2 separate regions of the Homo sapiens genome follow, and region 2 is linked to region 1. The links are contacts of gene promoters, found by promoter capture Hi-C in human tissues and cell types (Jung and others, 2019). All regions are on one chromosome and are shown on one strand. Each heading gives the region's core, a stretch centred on a gene start or on the middle of the fragment in contact. The rest is flanking DNA. Distances are from core to core; before and after follow the strand shown.

Region 1 (3,848 bases), core at 156-2,655:
ACATCCACCTTCTGCATTGCCTCAAAAGCAAAAGGGCTGACAAACTGAAGACTTGTACATTCAGTCATTATTACTGTTTGTTGATCCTAATGGTAAAAATACAAATGAAAGTAGGAGTTTAACTTTCACATGTATGAACACCCAACTTTCTAAAAACCCTGAAAAATGTGGTGTATCTTTAATAGGTCCCTATGTTGGCAATGTTCCTGGCACAATCAAGACAAGGCTTCTCTGTCTCCCTAGGTTTATACTGTCACCTGGGAAATGGGAAAGAAAACAGAGTATATTAATGTCTCTTCCAGCCTCAGGAATCTTCTGCTCTAATACTCATATTTTACAAAGAAGGAATATGAAGCCCAGAGAGATGAAGTAACACGCCCAAAATAGTATTACTAGTTAGAGGCACAATCCAAGGCTGAATCCTCATCTACTAAAATCCCAGTCCAAGACTTTCTCCACTATATCAGTCACATGAGCTCCACAAAATGTAAACAAAAGTGAATGGTCATAGTTAAGTGCTTTCTTTCATACCCCGATAGTTTCACATGCCTACCCCGATATACATCAAGAACTATTGGGCTTCTCTTTCTCACCCTCCATGAGTCGGTGGAAAAACTAGCAAATCACTGGGCAGAACCAATGCCAGATTCAAGGCTCTGGAGGCCACAACACTATCCTATGTCCCCTGTGTTACCGGGTAAAAAGCAGATGTGTGGGTGCTATGTGAGAAAGACGCGTCTCATTAGCGCACTTCTCTGTCTCCAGGAATCATCCAAGGCACAAAAAGTAAACAAAAAGGCAGTGAGCTGGCAGCCAAAGCAGTCCCCTCTCAAGGCCGACCGACTAGCAGCAGCGTGGGTAAAAGTCGTGGGTAAAAACTGCTTTGCTTTCAGGGAGGGGCTGCTCTTTTAACAGAGGGGCGGGCTGACTGGAGCAGAGGAGCCAAGACCTGCGTGCTCCTCCGTCTCGCCCCGGGCGCAACTAGAACCAATAAGTCCCTCAGGCTGAGCAAAGTCTGGCCAGGCTCCGACACGGACCTAGGAACGCGCTGAGGCCAGAGAAGCGGACGCTTCATACCTTAAGATCTACCCTCCAGCCTCACGGAACCGCACACGGACTCCGCGTCCTAGAGGCGGGACGCGGCAGAAATCGAGAGCGCGGTCCGATGTTGGGCCTAGGCGATATCCGGAACCCCAAACCCTAGTTGTGCCTCGAGTCGACTCGGACACCAAGAACTCAGACGCCGGGACCAACCGGGTTGTCGATACAAAGTGGGAAGGATGGGGGCACCACACAAAGGCAGAACCGGGACTGTAGGAACGGAAAAGCGGGAGACTTTTTCAACCTGCACCCAGCACCTTCATTCATCCCCAGCGTCTGACTCCCGTCGGCCACCGTACTGGTCTGAGAGGAAGGGTGGCTGCGAGAGGAAAGGCAGAGACGTCGGCGCCAATGCAACTGTGCGCGTGCGCGGCCCCGCCCCTTTCTCCACTTTATTTGCCCTGCCCTACTTGTTCGCCAAAAATTTAGAAATGTGATTCTGGTAGGCTCTGATTTCCAGAGCCTACCAGCTCCTTCCTTTTAGACAAGCAAGCCACTGAGCCCCTCAGAACTTAAATTTCATCATCACAGGATTGCCATGGCATTCAAATGGCATAACGTGTGTTAAAATCGTTCCCACTATTCTTTGACACTAGTGGTACCAAACTGTACTCTTTAAATCTTTGCCTGTGCCTTCCCAGAACCAAAATTCTAGAATCCCAGGATTTGTGGGAGAATTTTAAAAGTGATCTAACCCCAAACTTTCTTCCGCTCTTGACCTCACACCTCCGCTGTCAGAAGTTAAACACCTTCCTTTCAGGTTCTTAACTTGGGGGACCCATAGAACCTTAGAGAGGCAATGCACGGGGATTCAGGAATTCTCTGGAATCCGTTCAGAACTGAGTGCTCGGCACTTCTTCTGGGAAGAGGGTCCAAAACTTTCAACAACTTCTCAAAGGAAGTCTGATCACTCAGAAAAGAACCACTAGTCTATATATGAAGAACCGCTAGTCCATATGTCTTCATACTATTTATTGTTCCTAGTTCGATCAACGTTTATTTGGCAACTTCTATTTACCAGATATTGTGCTAGGAGCTGGAAATAAAAATATTTTACAAAGATATAGCACTTTATAACCTCTTTAAAAATAAAGTCAGAGCCGGGCGTGGTGTCTCATGCCTGTAATCCCAGCGCTTTGGGAAGCCGAGGCGGGCGGATCACCTGAGGTCAGGAGTTCGAGACCAGCCTGACGCAACATGACTAAACCCCAACTCTACAAAAAATATAAAAATTAGGCCGAGCACGATGGCTCATGCCTGTAATCCTAGCACTTTGGGAGGCCGAGGCAGGCAGATCACGAGGCCAGGAGTTCGAGACCAGCCTGACCAACATGGTGAAACTCCGCCTCTACTAAAAATGCAAAAATTAGCCAGGCGTGGTGGTGTGCGCCTGTAATCTCAGCTACTTGGGAGGCTGAGGCGGGAGCATTGCTTGAACCTGGGAGGCGGAGGTTGTGGTGAGCTGAGATCGTGCCATTGCACTCCAGCCTAGGCAATAAGAGCGAAACTCCGTCTCAAAAAAAAAAAAAAAAAAAAAAAATTACCCCAGCGTGGTGATGGAGCACCTGTAGTCCCAGCTACTTCGGAGGCTGAGACAGGAAAATCACTTGAACCTAGGAGGCAGATGTTTCAGTGAGCAGAGATCATGCCACCGCACTCCAGCCTGGGCAACAGAGCCAGACTCCATCTCAAAAATATATATATATATATGACTTTCAACATAGATCAGCAAAGGAAGAAAAGAATTGTGTGTTGCAATGCTTCTGAAAATTTTTTCCACCTGACCCACAATAATACATTTCACATTGTGACCCAGAAAAAACATATGTATATATCCACATACAAAAATAAGTGTAAGTGTATAAATTTATATGCTATATAAACATATAAATATATAACATATAAACCCACATTTACATGGAAACAAATATTTCGTATAATAACACACACACTACATGTTTCTACTTCTCTTTAAAAAACTGCTGGTCACTGCACACTAAAACTGATTTCACACTCTATTAATGGGTTGCACACTGTACTGTCCTAGCATTTTTAAGCTAATATTTGGGATTTATTTATTGAACACTTGCTAGGCACTGTAATAAATGCTTTATATATATTATCTGATTCAATCTTGTGACGTAGGTAATATTCGCCTTTTGCAATTGTGGAAACTGAGAGAGGGTAAGCAATTTCATCTCCATGGATGGTCATTTCACAGGAAAAGTGTGAAGGCAGTGCAAACATTGGTTTGAGGGACGAATGAGAGGAAGATGTGGGTATGAACTAAGTGATTTTAAAGATCCTTTCCAACTCTAATTATGATCCTCTGTTCACTAATGGAGAAACATCATGCAGATTCAGTATCTCCATCTTGATCTATGGAGAAACAGAAAAATCACTGAATGAGATGGCTGCAGTGTCACATAATGAGTGCTGACACTTCCTCCAAGTCCCCCTCTCCTTTTCTTCCAGTTCACCAACTTGACCTTGAGTTGCTCAAGCCAGAAACCTAAAAGTCATCCTAGACTCTAATCTCTCCCCCTTGTATTAATTTAGCAAAAATCTTTATAATCATTGAAACATTGTAATGTTTGCCAATAAAACTTTTTTTTTTTTGAGACAGAGTCTCGTTCTGTTGCCCAAGCTGGAGTGCAGTGGCACGATCTCGGCTCACTACAACCTCTGCCTCCCAAGCTGAAGCAATCCTCCCACCTCAGCCTCCTGAGTAGCTGGGACAATAGGTG
Region 2 (3,977 bases), core at 308-2,807, 410 kb before region 1:
ATTGTATTTGCACAGTGCTTCCTAGTGTATAATCTCATAATTTAATCAGAGCACCCCTCTAAGGAAGATGATCTCAATTTTATAGACTGTGGCTCAGAGAGGTTAAGCGTCTTGGACAAGGTCATGCAGGGAGTAAATGAAAAGCCAGGGCTTGAACCACGTCCTGATTCTAAGTTTGGTGCTCTTTCCACGACTTCACAGATTTCTTCTGTTTCATAGATTTCATGATAAACTAGAAGGTGTGGGAGTAATAGTGAAGTCCTTGGCCGGGTGCAGTGACCCATGCCTGTAATCCCAGCACTTTGGGAGGTCAAGGCAGGCAGATCACTTGAGGCCAGGAGTTCAAGACCAGCCTGGCCAATATGGTGAACCCCTGTCTCTACTAAAAGTACAAAAATTAGCTGGGCATGGTGGCATACCTCTGTAATCCCAGCTACTTGGGAGGCTGAGGCACGAGAATTGCTTGAACCTGGGAGGCTGAGGTTGCAGTTAGTCGAGATCACGCAACTGCACTCCAGCCTGGGTGACAGAGCAAGACTCTGTATAAAAATAAAAAATTTCAAAAAAAAAGTGGAGTCCTCATTACCTTATGGGTTCTTAATTTTAAAAGACTGATTTTATACCTTCAAAAAAATGACTCATTATTTAAAGAAAGTGTATTCCATTTCTTTATCACTAAGGACTCCAGAACATGTAACTTGGAGTTAGTACAAGTGAGGCTCCAATGAGCATTTTTTTTTCTTTTTTTTTTTTGCGACAGAGTTTCACTCTTGTCGCCCTTGTCGCCCAGGCTGGAGTACAATAATGCAGCCTCAGCTCACTGCAACCTCCCCCTCCCAGGTTCAAGCAATTCTCATGCCTCAGCCTCCCGAGTAGCTAGGATTACAGGTGCCCACCACCAAGCTTGGCTAATTTTTGAATTTTTAGTAGAGACAGGGTTTCACCATGTTGGCCAGACTGGTCTTGAACTCCTGACCCCAGGTGATCCACCCGCCTCGGCCTCCCAAAGTGTTGGGATTACAGGCGTGAGCCACCACGCCCAGCTGAGCATATTAGTTTTAAAATGGAATTAAATTGAGTTTTCTAACTTAATTCCTCTTTCTTTTATACTTTCTCCAATTTTAGCTTCAGTAATTTTCTTTTTCTTGGAGATTCTCATAATACCTTTCCATCCATGGTCAGAATTTACTTGCAAAACAACAGAGTAAAACAGCATAAAAATAATGGAAGCTGCTTAAGTGTTTCATGGGGCCGGGCAAGGTGGCTCACACGTGTAATCCCAGCACTTTGGGAGGCCGAGGCAGGCGGATCATGAGGTCAGGAGATCCAGACCATCCTGGCTAACACGGTGAAACCCCGTCTCTACTAAAAATACAAAAAAATTAGCCGGGCTTGGTGGCGGGCGCCTGCAGTCCCAGCTACTCCAGAGGCTGAGGTAGGAGAATGGCGTGAACCCGGGAGGCGGAGGTTGCAGTGAGCCGAGATTGCGCCACTGCACTCCAGCCTGGGCGACAGACTCCGTCTCAAAAAAAAAAAAAGAAAGTCTTTCTAATTTGCTTAGATATCTAACCCCCACGTAAATGTGGGCATGAAATAATTAAGTAACAAAACTCTAGTTTGCTACAGTCACAAAGGAAGGTGTGATGTAACCCAAGAACTGTCATTTCTTCTGCACGTTGGAGAAGACTTTTTCAGGTTGTTCTGTTCTCTTCCTAAAAAAAAAAAAAGGAAACAGAGAAATGGAGAGAAGATAAAAAAAAAAGCAAGAGACTAACAGATATCAAAGCTGTGCGAGAGAGAGTGGCTGTGGCATGTATTTTGCAGGGCGGAGAGTGAAAGAAAGTGAACTTTCATTTGTAACAGCTTTAAATGGTTCTGTTCAGGAGCAGATGGGGAACAATTTTGCTAGTGCTATGGAAATACAGTTCGAAGGACTGCAATCACAGACCAAACTCTCAGCAACTGCAGACAGAGAAGCTGAGAATTTTCTGTAAATAGTTAAAAGCATCTGGACAAGGTAGACCAGTAGGAACATAAGACAGCATGGAGCTCAGAAAGTCAGCAGTCAATGTACACAACAAAAGAGTCGGACCAGGAGAGAGACAACCCACCAGTTATTTAGTGTAAAATGATTGGTGCTTAATATTGAAACTGTATGATTGTATAAAAGAACTGATGATTATAGTTGAGTTTAGAGATTTATGTTTAAATTAAATAATAAAATATAGCTTATTCTACAATGTACATTTTGTCCTATAATATACATTTTATTATATAATATACATTTAGTCAAACCTTTAAAAGGATCAATGAGATCCTTTTAAAAGTCTTCATGGGCCAGGCACGGTGGCTCACTCCTGTAATCCCAGCACTTTGGGAGGCCAAGGTGGGTGGATCACCTGAGGTCAGGAGTTCGAGACCAGCCTGGCCAATATAGTGAAACCACGTCTCTACTAAAAATAAAAAATTAGCTGGGCATGGTGGCGCACGCCTGTAGTCCCAGCTACTCGGGAAGCTGAGGCATGAGAATTGCTTGAACCCGGGAGGCGGAGGTTGCAGTGAGCCGAGATCGCGCCACTGCACTCCAGCCTGGGAGGTTGCAGTGAACTGAGGTCGTGCCACCGCACTCCAAAAAAAAAATAAATAAATAATAAAAAATAAATTTAAAAAAGTCTTTATGAAGTCTTGAGTTCGAACAGACAAAATCCTTTAACTATTCATGATACTCGAACCAAGTGGATTCCAGCTCCCAACTATAGGCTGGGATTTTGATGCCAAAAATTGGCAAGAAAGACAAAACAGCTGAGAATAGTGCCTGATGAAGGTGAACCACACTTGCAACTGCTTATATGTGGTCAGGTTTGTGTTAATGACTCTTTATGCTGTGGCATTCACAAAATTTCTCTCTCATCTTGGGATTTTTCCTCTTTCTTTTTTTTTTTTTAAAGACGGAGTCTCGCTCTGTCACCCAGGCTGGAGTGCAGTGGCGTGATCTCGGCTCACTGCAACTTCTGCCTCTCAGGTTCAAGCAATTCTCCTGCCTCAGCCTCCCAAGTAGCTGGGATTACAGGCACCCACCACCGTGCCTGGCTAATTTTTGCATTTTTAGTAGAGACGGGGTTTCGCCATATTGGCCAGGCTGGTTTCGAGCTCCTGACCTCAGGTGATCCACCCGCCTTGGCCTTCCAAAGTGCTGGGATTTCAGGCATGAACCACCATGCCCGGCCCCTCTTTCTTTTACTGGTAAGAAATTATAGCCGTACTCTGTCTCTCAGCTTCTCATGATCTCAGACTCCTATGGTCTCACCATTATTCCTTTCCTAATACATTCCATATTTTAGGCCATATATCTCCCCTGAGCCAGTCAGAGCTCAGTCTCTCCAGAAACACAGCTATAAACCAGGAAGAAAGGGAAAATGAAGGGTTAAGTAAAGAGAGAGAATGAAGCTTTATGTATCACCTGCTATGTGTCTAGAACTCTGTTATATACTTTATATATATTTCCTCACTTAATCTTTGTAACTGTATGATATCAGTCTTATTTACTCTATCAGATGATGAATCTGAGGTTCAGAGAGATTGAACAACTTGCCCAAGATGACACAGCTAACAAGTAGAGGAGTTAAGATGCAGATTTGGGTCTGTCTGATTCCAAAACTCATATTCTTTCCACTGCACCACACTGCTTTCCAAAACTTTATCTGAATAATCAAGACTTGTGTTGCAAAGTATGAACCCAAGGTATATGATGATTTATTTTACTCATATAGCTAGTCTAAAACCCTCACATAGAACTTGTGAGTCACAGTTGTCTGGTTCCTAAGCCTAGAGCTAATTAGAAAGAAGTAGCAAATTAAAAGATGAGGGAGGATTTTGTGAGCAAGTGCACTGACTACAGTGAGAAGAGGCAGATGGCAGCTTGATAGTAAGAAAAAAACCACATTCAAAAGCAGATATGGCTGGGCGTGGTGGCTCAC

Evidence for each region. Contacts are between HindIII fragments. The study calls those that stand out against the background at their distance.
Region 2: a contact is called between a fragment that was not itself captured here and the fragment with the promoter of INTS2 in region 1, in 1 of the 25 tissues and cell types used here (mesenchymal stem cells).

The regions. Positions count from the first base shown.
Region 1 is chr17:61,926,577-61,930,424 of GRCh38, forward strand. INTS2 (integrator complex subunit 2) reads right to left here and starts at 1,406. Exons shown (of 25, transcript NM_001351695.2): 1 at 1,078-1,406; 2 at 1-86. The coding sequence starts at 68. RefSeq lists a silencer at 1,437-1,536. The HindIII fragment of the contact is 16,998 bases long and covers 1-3,848 here.
Region 2 is chr17:61,512,746-61,516,722 of GRCh38, forward strand. No RefSeq gene overlaps it. Among named protein-coding and RNA genes, the nearest start is that of TBX4, 62 kb to the left of the region's middle. RefSeq lists an enhancer at 1,443-1,943. The HindIII fragment of the contact is 4,645 bases long and covers 1-3,880 here.